Regions from separate parts of the Homo sapiens genome. Here region 1 is linked to region 2. The links are contacts of gene promoters, found by promoter capture Hi-C in blood cells and fetal thymus (Javierre and others, 2016). All regions are on one chromosome and are shown on one strand. The core of a region is centred on a gene start or on the middle of the fragment in contact, and the rest is flanking DNA. Distances in the headings are between cores, read along the strand shown.

Region 1 (6,513 bases), core at 2,965-5,464, 580 kb after region 2:
GATTTTTGCTTCTGTAAATAAGCGGCAGTGAGTAAACTATAGAAATCTTTGTGTTCATCTCTTATTTATGTAGGCTAAATTCTAGGAATGCAGTTCATATTTTAACGTTTTTTCAGGAAAGTCTAGACCCAGACTGAGGCACCAGAATCCCAGGCTACAGAAGCTTCCCCTTTCCCCTGTGGGGCGTGATGTCCCATGGGCAGAGCGGTTAGAAAGACATTTACTTAATGAACTGACTGAGAGTCACTCCTCGTTCCTGATTCTAGTTGGAAATGTAAGAGTGTGTCAGTATCTTTGGGCTCTGGGGGCCAAGAAACAGACCTCTCTGGGCTTTGTAGGCGAGTCGAGGTGGAAGGGACACGGGCTGATGGGGGGCGGCAGATGGTGCCTGTGTGTCTGGAGGTGGGCAGACATGCATGCTGCTGCAGAGGGAACAGTGAGATTCAAGAAAACCAAAAAGTCAGCCCTTTGCTTCTTTTACCACAAACCTTGGTGAGATTTTTCTGAAACGCTGGCTTGGAGCCTGGAAATTAAACTTAATTTTGACCCGTATATGGCCACATAGTATAGGAAAAAACCCTCTAAAGATATTTTTGAAAGGACTTTCTAAAGGAAACAAGGATAAAATAAGAATTGAAAAGAGTCTGCATTAAATGGAAAAACTTTAAAAGAATGCATCCTAAGGGCAGCTTTAGTGCAAGGCCTTAACGTTTTAGTTGCTCTGGTATCGCAGCGAGGGGGCGACACTCCATCCCTGCCGTGGCCCTGGACTCCTACCACCTGCCTGTCTAGCTCTGGCTGCTGAGTGTGTCTGCCAGTGGCTCAGGGAGTGCACTTGGACAGCCTGGCTGACCTCACAGTTCAGAACTGCTTAGGGAGTGACTCAGAAGGAGGCCTGTCCCTCCCGGGAATGTCAGGAAACAGCCACTTGGGAGATTTCTTCTGTGGCAGTGACTCTGTGAGAGTTCTAACTCGGTTCTTGACCAGCCTCACTGAGGACCATATAAATCCAGCCCGATTGGCACTGCATTCATTATCTCCCATCCTGCCCAGGATAGTCAGCTAGTGCTGTATATGAGAAACTCCTTCAAAAAACAGAGGTATTTGAGGTTCATTATGGAACTCTCTGTAGAATTATGAACTTTAGCTCTCTTTGGTAAATAGGAAATAGCTCCAACTACTTGTCCACCCAAGAAACCCTTCATCAGCCAGCCAGCTTGCTTCTTCCCACTTTGCTGTTCCTCAGACAGCCTTGACTTCATAGACACCCTGACAGGTGTTACCTGTGAAGCCCAGGACCTAGACCAGTGCCTTCTTTCCAGCAACTGCCAAGAGTAGAATGCTACCCAACTTAGAGATACTAAAATTCTTGTTCCCCCGAAGAAATAAAATCAATAGGCTGGATTTTGGAAAGATGTTTTCTTTGGGAACACAAAGAAGTACCTTTTCCTCTGCATACCACCTTTGTAGGTTTTTGAAAATAGCAACATTTCACTGTTCTGAAATATCTTAACATGTAAGTAAGCAGTGCTGAATCTTCGAGGGGAAGAAAAGAGTGAAGAGTGAGATCGTGAACTCCAGGAGGATGAAGTTCAGGGGAGGCAAATGAGACGGGTAAGAGTGAAGGCAGGCAGTGGGGATTATTCTAGGAGATGTTTGTGTGTGTGAGAGGGAGGTGAGTGAGGACTGAGTGAAGAGGGGAGTTAAGGACGGGAGGGCAGCAGTGTCCTGGCCTGCACCCGGGGGTCTTCCAGAAACAGCCCAGATGGATTGCCCCAGACTCGGCATCCTGGATGGTTTGATCCTTTCCAACCCGGTCCCCTCCTTCTTAGAATCATCGCTTCTCTGCACCTGTTCTTGCTTTTAATCGTGGTTATATCATCTCACAATAACACTTTGCACTAACTCAAGAGCTGGATTCCAATCAACCTTGCAATCACCTTCAGAATCACTTTCATATCTTCACATGTGGAAACTGAGGTGCAGAGAGGTGTGAAGATGTGCTGAAGGCCAGCCACACAGCTAGTCAGTGGCAGAGCTGGGTCTAAAACCACAGGCAGTCTTACCTCCAGGCCCTCAGCCCTCACCCTTCCTCCAGGCCTGGCTTCTAGTGAGGTGGCCCTTCCCTTGGCTTTGTTAGAGCCTTCTCAGCAGTGCCACAGGCCTCCAGAGACCCAGTGCTCAACCCGGTGGACTCTTGGCTTCTAGTAGGAGCCATCTCGGTTGGATGGACTTGGAGATTTTATACACACACACACACACACACACACACATATACATACACATATATACATACACACATATATATACACACACACATATATACACACACACACACACACACACACACACATAAACTGTTGCCCAGGTGCAGTGGCTAATCCCAGCACTTTGAGAGGCCGAGGTGGACGGATTGCTTGAGCCCAGAAGTTCGAGACAAGCCTGGGCAAAATGGCAAGACTCCATCTCTACAAAAAAATACAAAAATTAGCCAGGCGTGGTGGTGCACACCTGTCGTCCCGGCTACTTGGGAGGCTGAGGTAGGAAGATAGCTTGAGCCTGGGAGGTGGAGGCTGCTATGAGCTGAAATCGCACCACTGCACTCCAGCCTGGGTGACAGAACAAGACCCTATCTCAAAAAAAAAAAAAAGTGTGTATTTGCCCTTCAGAATCTCATCCTGTATCGGACTCCCGGGATAACTAATGAAATGAGATAGTCCAGCTAAAGGCCCGAAGAGCAGTTTCCCTCATGAAGCAGGATGGGCCCTGTTCTATGGTCTGGGTGCTGGAGTGTGACCCTGCCCAACACACAGGGCTTCACTCCTGGCCATATCATCTCCCTAGTTTGCATGGAAAGCAGGTAGTTAGGAGACCACTGTGAAATTGAGGCTTTGGGGCTTTCATTCTCAGCCGTGTGTTTCCATGAAAACAGGAACTGAAATGCACAAAACTATTGATACGGCTGTAGTCATGTGTTTGTCAGAGAAAATGCACTATCAGCTGTCAAATCTATCTCCTCCCACTACAGATAGAGGGGTGGGGGTGAGGCAGCACAGGAGGCAGAGAGGCGAGGTGCCCAGGCAGCCCGAAGCAGGGATGTGCTGGACGCTGCCCAGCAGGATGGTTCCAGACCGAGCTGGAGGGGAGTTCGGCCGGCCAGAGCAAGCTGAGGAGCTCTGGACGGCCAGCCCCGGAACCCAGAGGGCTGTTAGGTGGCCAGGCTGTGGAAGAGGAGGGGCTCTGGCGATACCTTTTCTGTTGCCATAGGAAGTCTCTTAGACAAAATGAAAGCTCCCTCAACCTGTCATCTCAATATCTGTTTCTGTGAGAGTATTTGGTTTTTCAGAAATGTATGGGCCAGAAAAATTCTCTCATTCAACAGGCATTTATTGAGTGCCTCCTACGTTCCAGGCACTATGCCAAAGCTAAGTAAAACCCAAGAGGGCTTTTCTTTGACCAGGATCTGAGTCAGGACTACAGCATGTAAGCTTTCTATTACATGTCTTCTAAATCAAGTGAAACCAGAAAGACCAAAACATGCTTAAGAGTAAAGATCAGACTTCTCGTTCTTTGAAAACATCTAACACCTTAGAGTTAATTTGGGCCCGCTCGTTTTCCATTAGACAAGTTTCTTGTTCAGACATTTGGGGATGGATCTCCCCATTTGCTAAAACAGACCGTGGGACGGCTTCTTACCTTGGAGGCAGCAAAGATGTCTGTTACGGTCAACTCGGTGCACAGAGTCTTGGTCCAGGCAGAAATGAGAGAGCAAGAGACAGAGTTAACCTCCAACCGGACAGAGAAGTCCTTGATGAGCAGCTCTCACTCCCTCCAACTGAGGAAACTTCCTACAAACCCTCAGAAAAAAGAGTGGCAGGGGAGAAGCCTCGCTGTGTGCCCTGGACTGCCACCAACCACCAGTTCCAACTTCTCTAGCAGCTGTTAACGTTTTCATGCCTAGAAATACTGAGAGCATCACCAGAACATCTGGAGAGATGGTGCCAGATAGGTACTCACCTTCTGCTCTGTGAGGCTGTTCAAAGTTTTGATGATCTCCTGTAAGGTGATATCGCACTTGTGTCCGTGGACAAAGTTGCCGGCACATGCTAGCAGGAAGAACAGAGGGGGAAGCAGTTGGGAGGTGAGACCCATTAATAGGTGTCGATTTGCAGTGACAATGTGAGGCAATTAGTTTATCAGGAGAAGCTAACGATGCAATGCTGACAAAGATATCTCTATATATAGATTTAAAATTGCTGAAACCGAGGGAAAATGAGTTTACATTGGAAATTTTCGTTACACCAGATTGTCAGTCACTTGGGGCCAATCAGCACCTCTCTTCCAGGAGAAAAAATGCCTCACAAACAGGTAAAATGTTCCTGTGAAATCAGACCAATAGGAAAATGAAACCTTTTTAAAAAATTAACTACAAAGTTTCAGCATAGGAAATTACACCATAATTTGCTCTTTAGATTAATCTTATCAGCTTGGGGCTGCTGCTGGCTTTTTGCTTTGCATAGAAGGGAGAGGCCACAGGTGTCCGAATTTGTTGTAATGCAGTCCTCCTGGGGAAAGATAGAGTAATATCAAGAAAGTTTTACTTGAAAAGTATTTTAACCTGGCTTCTTCCAAGTACAGGTGGCATCTTGGAAACTGTCCTGTCATGGAAAAGCTGATCTGGGGCTCCTTCTCTGCATAGAGGCAGAATAACAGGCAGACTCTCCTACCCCAGCACTGGGGGACAATGTTCTCCCAAGTTTAGGTGTTTTGAGAAGGACAGGTCGTATCAGGTGAGGCCTAGTTTGGGTCCCAGCAGGTCCATAAGGTCCTTACCCATAAGGAAGCCCTTGGCAAGGTAGGTCTATTCTGAGGTTTCAGGAATGACTTTTTTTTTTTTTTTTCTGAGACAGGGTCTCACTCTGTCACCCAGGCTGAAATGCAATGTTGTGATCAGGGATCACTGCAGCCTCAACCTCCCAGGCTCAAGTGATCCTCCCACCTCAGCCCCCCTAGCAGTAGGTGCGTGCCACCGCACCATGCCTGGCTCATTTTTATTTTTATTTTTTGATAGAGATAAGAGTCTCACTATGTTGCCTAGGCTCATCTCAAATTCCTGGGCTCAAGTGATCCTCCTACCTCAGTCTCCCAAAGCTCTGAGATTACAGGTGTGAGCCACCATGCCTGGCCAGGAATGCCCACTTTTTGAATGGAACCTAAACACATCCTCAGCTAATTAGGAAAAAGAGCTACAGTCTTACCAACTTACAAATCAGCCCTCCTAGTCAGTGCCCCACCACCCGCCCTGCTTGTTTTTTATTGAATTCATGTGGACACAATAAGGTGCTCATTGCCTCACCCCAGCAGTGAACGTAAGGACCCCACCACTCACTCAGGTGCCTGGGCCCTGTGCAAGGCCACCCCACCTCCCAGTAAGGGCTCATGGGCAGCAGGATTCTTGGGCCCTGCCTGCCCCCTGCTTTTCTCCCAGAACCTTCCCTTCCCTTGGTCTCTGACCTTCTTTTCCCTATGAATTTCTTTTTTTTTTTTTTTTTTTTGAGATGGAATCTTGCTCTGTCACCCAGGCTGGAGTGCAGTGGCGTGATCTTAGTTCACTGCAAGCTCCGCCTCCTGGGTTCATGCCGTTCTCCTGCCTCAGCCTCCCCGAGTAGCTGGGACTACAGGCACCTGCCACCACGCCCGGCTAATTTTTTGTATTTTTAGTAGAGACGGGGTTTCACCGTGTTAGCCAGGATGGTCTCCATCTCCTGACCTCGTGATCCGCCTGCCTCGGCCTCCCAAAGTGCTGGGATTACAGGCGTGAGCCACTGTGCCTGGGCCTCCCTATGAATTTATTCTGGAAGATCATCTAAAAATGTGTGTTGCTAAGGTTTTGCCTCTGTTCCACTTCCCCGCCCCCCCCTCACCACCCCCTGCCCCCATACTCTGTCACCCAGGCTGGAGTGCAGTGGTGATCATAGCTTACTGTAGCCTTGATCTCCTGGGCTCAAGGCATTCTCCAGCCTCAGCTTCCCGAGTAGCTGGGATTACAGGCACATGCCACCACGCCTGGCTAATTTCTGTATTTTTTTTTTTTTTTTAGTAGAGATGGGGTTTCACCATGTTGGCTAGGCTGGTGTCGAACTCCTGGCCTCAAAATGATCCACCCACCTCAGCCTCCCAAAGTGCTGGGATTATAGGCGTGAACCACCATGCCCGGCCAAGGTTTTGCCTCTGTTTTGGATCTTTTCTTCCCTTATTATTATTATTATTAAATTGACAAATAAGTATTGCACATATTTGTGCTGTATGATATAATGTTTTGAAATGTGCATGTTATGGAATTGCTACATCAAGCTACTTATACAATACTTCACATATTTATTTTTGGTAAGAACATTTAAAATCTACTCTGTGATTTATTTATTTATTTTGAGATAGAGTCTTGCTCTGTTGCCCAGACTGGAGTGCAATGGCGCAGTCTCAGCTCACTGCAACCTCTGCCTCCTGAGCTCA
Region 2 (5,983 bases), core at 1,769-4,268:
TACCTTGCTCTGCCTGCTCTAACTAGCTATTTCCTGCCTCTGACCGCATCTGTGCCACATGCCCTTGCCTTGTGCCATGTGCTTCAGCTGCACTGGTCTATTTCAGCTCCCAGAGCACTCCAAGCCCCCACCCTGCCTCAAGACCTTTGTATGGGCTGTTTTCTCTAACTAGAATGTCCTTGCTCCCATTCTTGGCCTGGCTGGCTTCTTCTCATTTTAAAGATCTTCACTTAAATATTCTCTACTCAAAGAGGCTTTCCGCCACACCAGCACCCACCCCCCACACACACACCTTAATAGCCCTCCCCTGCTACTCTCTTGGTATTCTCTCATCTTGTTCTTTCTATCCGTAATGCTTATTGTACTGTGTAATTTGTTTGCATGTTCTCTGCCAGCCTATTCTGAGACACCCCCCACCCCCAGCCCTTGCTCCCTCAGTCCAGCAGTTTGGACGCTGTAGCAACAGATACAGATGTGGAGTGAAGGAGTGAGCTCCCTGTACAGAAGGTATTCTGGGGATTGGAGCCAAAGTTGGACCTACTCTTGTTAGAACATTCTCAGAAGGTTCCTGACCTGGATGACTTGGCCTGTCAAAAGACTGTTTCCCATTTCCTTATGACTTCTTCAGTGGAAATACGTTAACTGGTATTTCTTTCCCTTCTGAGGGGGTGTGTTATGTAATTAACACCAGCTGCTATAGAAATCCCAAAATCTCAGTAGTGTAGTATAGTAAAGGCTGGTTTCCCATCCTCATCAAGTCCGATGGGGTCAGGCAGCTCTCCCTAAACAGTGACTAGACCATGTTCTTCACTCTCATCAAATGCATGACCTCCAAAGACGAGGAGAGGAGAGCATGGATGATGACTGTGTTATCCTCCAGAAAAATAAAACCAACAGAAGATGTATATGTCTTCTACGGAACCAATAAAACATTGGCTTCTGTTGAAGCCAGTGTTTCAGTTTCAGTCTGAAAGCAGGAAAAAGACCAATGTCACAGCTCAGCAGTGAGACAGGAGGGTTTCCCTCTTACCCAGGCTCATTTTTTCTATCTAGGTCTTCAACGAATTGGATGAGGCCTGCCCTCATTGGGGAGGGCAATCTTCTCTACTCAGTCTACTGATTCAAATGTCAATCTCATCCAGAAACACCCTCACAGACACACCCAGGATAATGCTCGAACAAATATCTGGGTGCCTTGTGGCCCAGTCAAGGTAACACATAAAACTAACCAAGACAATGACACAGAGGTTGTGTGGCCAGGCTTGGTCACCTCCTATCACCTACCATGTCAAACCCAATGACATGGCCCCATTCTGGCTCCAAGAGAGGCCACGAAATAGTCATAATGAGTGCACAGGAATTGGAAGATGAGCTGGCATTTGGAAACACACAGCATGGCCCCCTCTTGCTAGTTAGGTAAAAACTGTTTGCTCTTCTCCACTGACTTGCTCAGGAGATTCTGGATCCAACCTTAGAGATCTGTATGAATTTTTGTAAATTCTGAGTAGCTCTGTATAATTACATAAGGTAATACATTCTTTTCCCCCTTAAGACACCAAAGTAATAGGCAGTTAGGATACTCTCCTTTTGCAAATATCTTGAGCAGAGGTATGCCCATCATCTTTGGGTGTAGACTCAGTAGGGTGGGAGAGACCCATAGAGTGGCCAAGCTGACCAAGGCTACCCCACACACAGGAACCAGCGGAGGTGGAAGAGCTGGTATGCAGCACTGTGACAGCCATGCTCCTGCTGACCAGGAGGCCCTGTGCTCTCCACCTCAGCAAGGACCCTTTGCTCCTTCTGATGGATGCCTCTCCTGCCTGCCACACTGTGGCACCCCATGATACCCAGAATGGTGATCTCACAGCCCCTGGGCACTGAGTTCTGCTCTAACTTCCTGTTCGTCTGCACACAGCAGTCACATTGAGGTTTAGTTTTCTCAAAACTAAAAAGGTGTATTGGCCAGAGGAGGCTAAATGGAACCCCAGAGCCTAGAGGGATGCCCAGGTAACCCTGCCCCTGCACAGGCCGGCCCCTCCTGCAAACAAGGAGGATACTACATCAGACTAGGATGTCTCGATAGCAGGACACAGGTCTGCCAGGCACACAGGGAGGGCTCTACCAAGAAAGAGGGCAACCAGGCTTTACAGGAGTCACGGGCCCTTAACCTGGGGTCTGTAGACAGGTTCAGGCCTCTGCTCTCCCTCCCCACTTAACACTTGTCTTCTCTGCTAAGCCATGAGCTCCAGGTTAGCAAGCACTGGGCCTGTTTTTCTTGCCAGTATATTCCCACTGTATCCTGGCTCCTGGTACCAGCTCCATAAATAATTGTTGACTGAGCACTAGCCTAATAGTTCACTTGCTTAAAACTGCTTATTAAGTCCCTTCTGCGTGGTAGGCATTGTATTAGGTGCTGGGGATACAACATAAATAAAACAGATATAGTCTCTGCCTTTATGCAGCTTACAAAGGTGTTTGTTCACACCAGAGAGCAGAACTTGATAACTAAACTGTAATAAAAGTTGAAGCAACATCAAGCAACATAGGCCAGTTGAAAAAGTAAATTACCCACTGACCCGCAGGTAATTAACTAGTAATTTTATTGCCATCCCCAAAATGAAGCAAGCAAGAGGGAATGACAATGGCAGGAAGATTGAATCTGGTTACACGTAAGGAAACAGGAGATTTGGGACAGATGCAAGTGCTCTCTTGTGTGGCTTTGGAGCAAGTCTGGCTAATACAGAGCCACCTGTGCAGGCTGGATGCACCCTGGTGCTCTAAACAGGAATGTCAAGATGAAAGGCTTTAAGACATCCTGTCCCCAGCCTCCCATCCACAAACATTCAGCAGTTATTTGAAAGGATCCCAGAGTGACAATCTCTGGTAGACGGAACAGAGGAGACAAAAAGCACACCATCCCTCCCACCCGCCTTGCCCGGCTCACCAGGATACGCCAAAGCAGCTTCACTCTGTAAACACCAGCCAAAGTCACAAGGTCCGGGAGATGTTGCCCTGTTTGTTCAGGAGACACTGGGCATGCGCACTCCCCCTTGGCTCCTCCCCTACTCGCCAACTTCACAGTGTGACTCTGGTCACAGGGATGGGACCAGATCAATAGACTTTGTCACTCCAATGCCCCAGCTTCTTTGGTGGCACCTAGGTCACCTGAGGGGTTTGTTTCAGGAAAGCACATTAATTTAGAAGGAGAATAATGTGGGAAGAGGCCGCAGTTAGAGAGATGTGTCTAAGCGCCTGGCCTGTGCTCTCTCCAAATTGCCCTCATTCCCAAGCAGGCCCCTGAGCCTGAGTTTGCCCTCCGAGGCTCAGTCAAAAATATTGATGTGCAGGCAGGTTACTGAGCTTTTGACAGGGTTTTTTTCACCAATGGCATCATTTGAAAAATGGCAAATATCCAAGTAGGAATGTGTTCCATTAGTGTGTTTCTGACATAAGAAAACTAACACCAGCTTGACAAGAATTTGAGAAATTTAATTTCTATCACTACAAAGCACCAGAATCCTGTTTGAGAGGGTGCTGATGGGTTTATGAGTGTCTTATCGAGTTCAAGTCAGTGTGAGAAATAGCGCCTGAGATTAAGGGAAACCTGTAATAGGAACTAAAACCCAGTTCTCCAACAACTGAAATGTTATGGCCTCCTGCTTTCAGGAAGGGTGTTTGTTAGCCTGCTTATGGTAAGCCCATTAATTCCCTGTGACTGCCTCTTCTCTCCAAGCTCCAAGACTCAGGGAGAAAGGTGAGGACGGGTGTTTGTGGCATCTCATGTCTGGAAAACCAAGGGTATGCTACTGCACTGGTTTGAAGGGCCTAGAGAGATAGGTCATGGCCTTGAGCCCACCTACTGTGTGCCATGCCTTGTGCTAGGCACCAGAGTGCCAGACAGCCCTGCCCAGAATCCCACTGTGGGACACGCAGCCTAGCTAGTGGTCCAGGAAGCTCTGTCTTGTGCCAACCAACCCACACTGACTTGGGCCATCACTGCAGTGTGACCCATTTGTTTTCATCCCAGGGGGATATCATGGGAAGCCCTGAGCTTTGAGAACCCCCCAACTCCCTTGCCCTCCTCAGATTCCCTACTTGCAGAGCAGCTCTCCAATGTCAGTTCTCATAGCAGGGCGTCAGTCCCTCTGTGGGCACAGACTTCTGCCCAGTAGTGCCAGACAAGCTCCCTGATGGGCTGCTCTGACCCCCAACCCAGCCCTCTCTTTCCAAAGACACCAGCCTCAGTGTGTAGACACATTCTCACCCCAGACACAGCGTCTGGCTGAGCCCTCTCTCACTGACCCCTGATCACACTCTGAGTGCTGGGCATATCACGTTTGGTCGTCCAGGGACCTTGGAAACCTTCCCACATAGTGGCTAATGAGCCCACAGATGGTCAGTCAACACAGGGGCATTGGAGCCACAGCCAGGAGCCAGAAGGACCACTCGTTGCCCCCTAGAGGGCTGCATGTGGCATCTTCATCTTCCTCTCATGTGGCCTGGCTCCCCACCAGAGCAGAGACCAGGCCTGGGGCTTAACTGGTCCACAGCCCTGCAGATGTGGCCAGCGCAGGTGAGGTTCAGGAGATGTGTGATCACTGAACACAGAAGGCCATCTCCACAAATTCCAGACCCTCGCCATCAGGATGTGAGGCTCAACAGGATGATGGGGTTTGCTTAGTTGGGCCACATCTCCTCCCTGTGAAAGCTGCCCCCATCACTCTCCAGAGAAGGCGCAGGGTGGAGGCAAGACTGTAGTAGCCTAAATCAGGTTTCAGTTCTGACGATTCTTACCGTCTTCACTGTATGACTGCGGCTATCTGCCCTGATCACGCACGATGCCCAGGCTTCCCGATGCAGTTGTGATGCAGATAGGGGGAAGGGAGGGGGCCCTCTCTGCATCCCTATGATGGTCATAGGGTGTCAATCTGCCCAATATACCCTTTCCATTAGCCATTTTACCCCAGCCCAAACACCTAGTCCCTGCCCCTGGAGGTGGCCACACGGCCCAGGCCTGATGGGCCAATCAGTCCCACACCTGCACAATACTCAGTCCTCTTGCCCTCAGTGTTTGCTTCAGGGAAGAACACAGGAGCTGTATGTGGCCAATCAGAGCTCCCCCATGCTTTTTCCAGGGCTCTCAGGCAAGATTTGTTCCCTTCCTCTGGGATCCCACATACAGAAACAATGTGAGTGTGGGGCCACCAATGGACATCTTGCAACCAAGTAGAGAATGCCACTGTCGAAGGCCCTGGATGCCTGCAACCTCTTCCACCTCCCTTAGATTTCCCATTGTGGGAACTAAACCACCTTTTTCCCCCTAAGCTATTAATAGTTGAGCATTTCTGAGTGTTTCTGTTACTAAGCCTGAAAAAGTTCTGATAAATTCACCAGGACAGTCTCTTTCAATCTTCTTCACCTAATATCTGTCCAAGTGTTTCTTTACATTAAAACTTCAGGGTCCCAGAAACATCCCATGAGGTCATCTTGGAGGTAGGGGCCAATAGTGTGAGGAGCTCAGAATGGATGAGCAGCAGGTGCCAAGCAGGCCCACGCTGAGGTCTGAAGACACAAATGCCATGGGGAGCCAGCTGGCACAGTGGTAAATAATGTTGGAGACACAGCAGGGTCAAGACTGGGGACTCTTCTGGATTCTATGTGGTGATCTGTGGGTAATAGGGAGCCATTGACAGCTGTTGAGCAGGGCTGAGATGTACCTTGTTCTGCCAGTGGCAACAAGACAGTTGCAGGCAGCAGGGGCAAACTGGAGGGGTGACCATGAAGGAGGCTATAGGGGGCCTGGGATGGGGCAGGGGAGTCCTCAAAGGGTATCGGGAGGGAAGCCTTAGTGGGACTTGGCACCCATTGGTGCTGCCACTTGAGGCGTCACTTTTACCATCATGGGTAAGTGGGCAAAGAACAGGGGCAGATGACACTTAGGGGCAAGAAAAGATGCAGTGGGAGCACTTGCAAGACTCAGGGG

What was found. The method cuts DNA at HindIII sites, captures the fragments that hold promoters and counts their contacts. A CHiCAGO score of 5 or more calls a contact.
Region 1: the fragment with the promoter of IL4 here is called in contact with the fragment with the promoter of FSTL4-AS1 in region 2 in 5 of 17 cell types (neutrophils, naive B cells, M1 macrophages and 2 more); the score reaches 8.3 in neutrophils.

The regions. Positions count from the first base shown.
Region 1 is chr5:132,671,690-132,678,202 of GRCh38, reverse strand. IL4 (interleukin 4) reads right to left here and starts at 4,214. Exons shown (of 4, transcript NM_000589.4): 1 at 4,018-4,214; 2 at 3,697-3,744. The coding sequence starts at 4,152. The HindIII fragment of the contact is 7,466 bases long and covers 3,491-6,513 here.
Region 2 is chr5:133,253,480-133,259,462 of GRCh38, reverse strand. It overlaps FSTL4-AS1 (FSTL4 antisense RNA 1), which reads right to left and starts at 3,018. Exons shown (of 2, transcript XR_007058939.1): 1 at 2,945-3,018. The region is part of intron 6 of FSTL4 (follistatin like 4); the gene reads left to right. The HindIII fragment of the contact is 11,288 bases long and covers 1-5,983 here.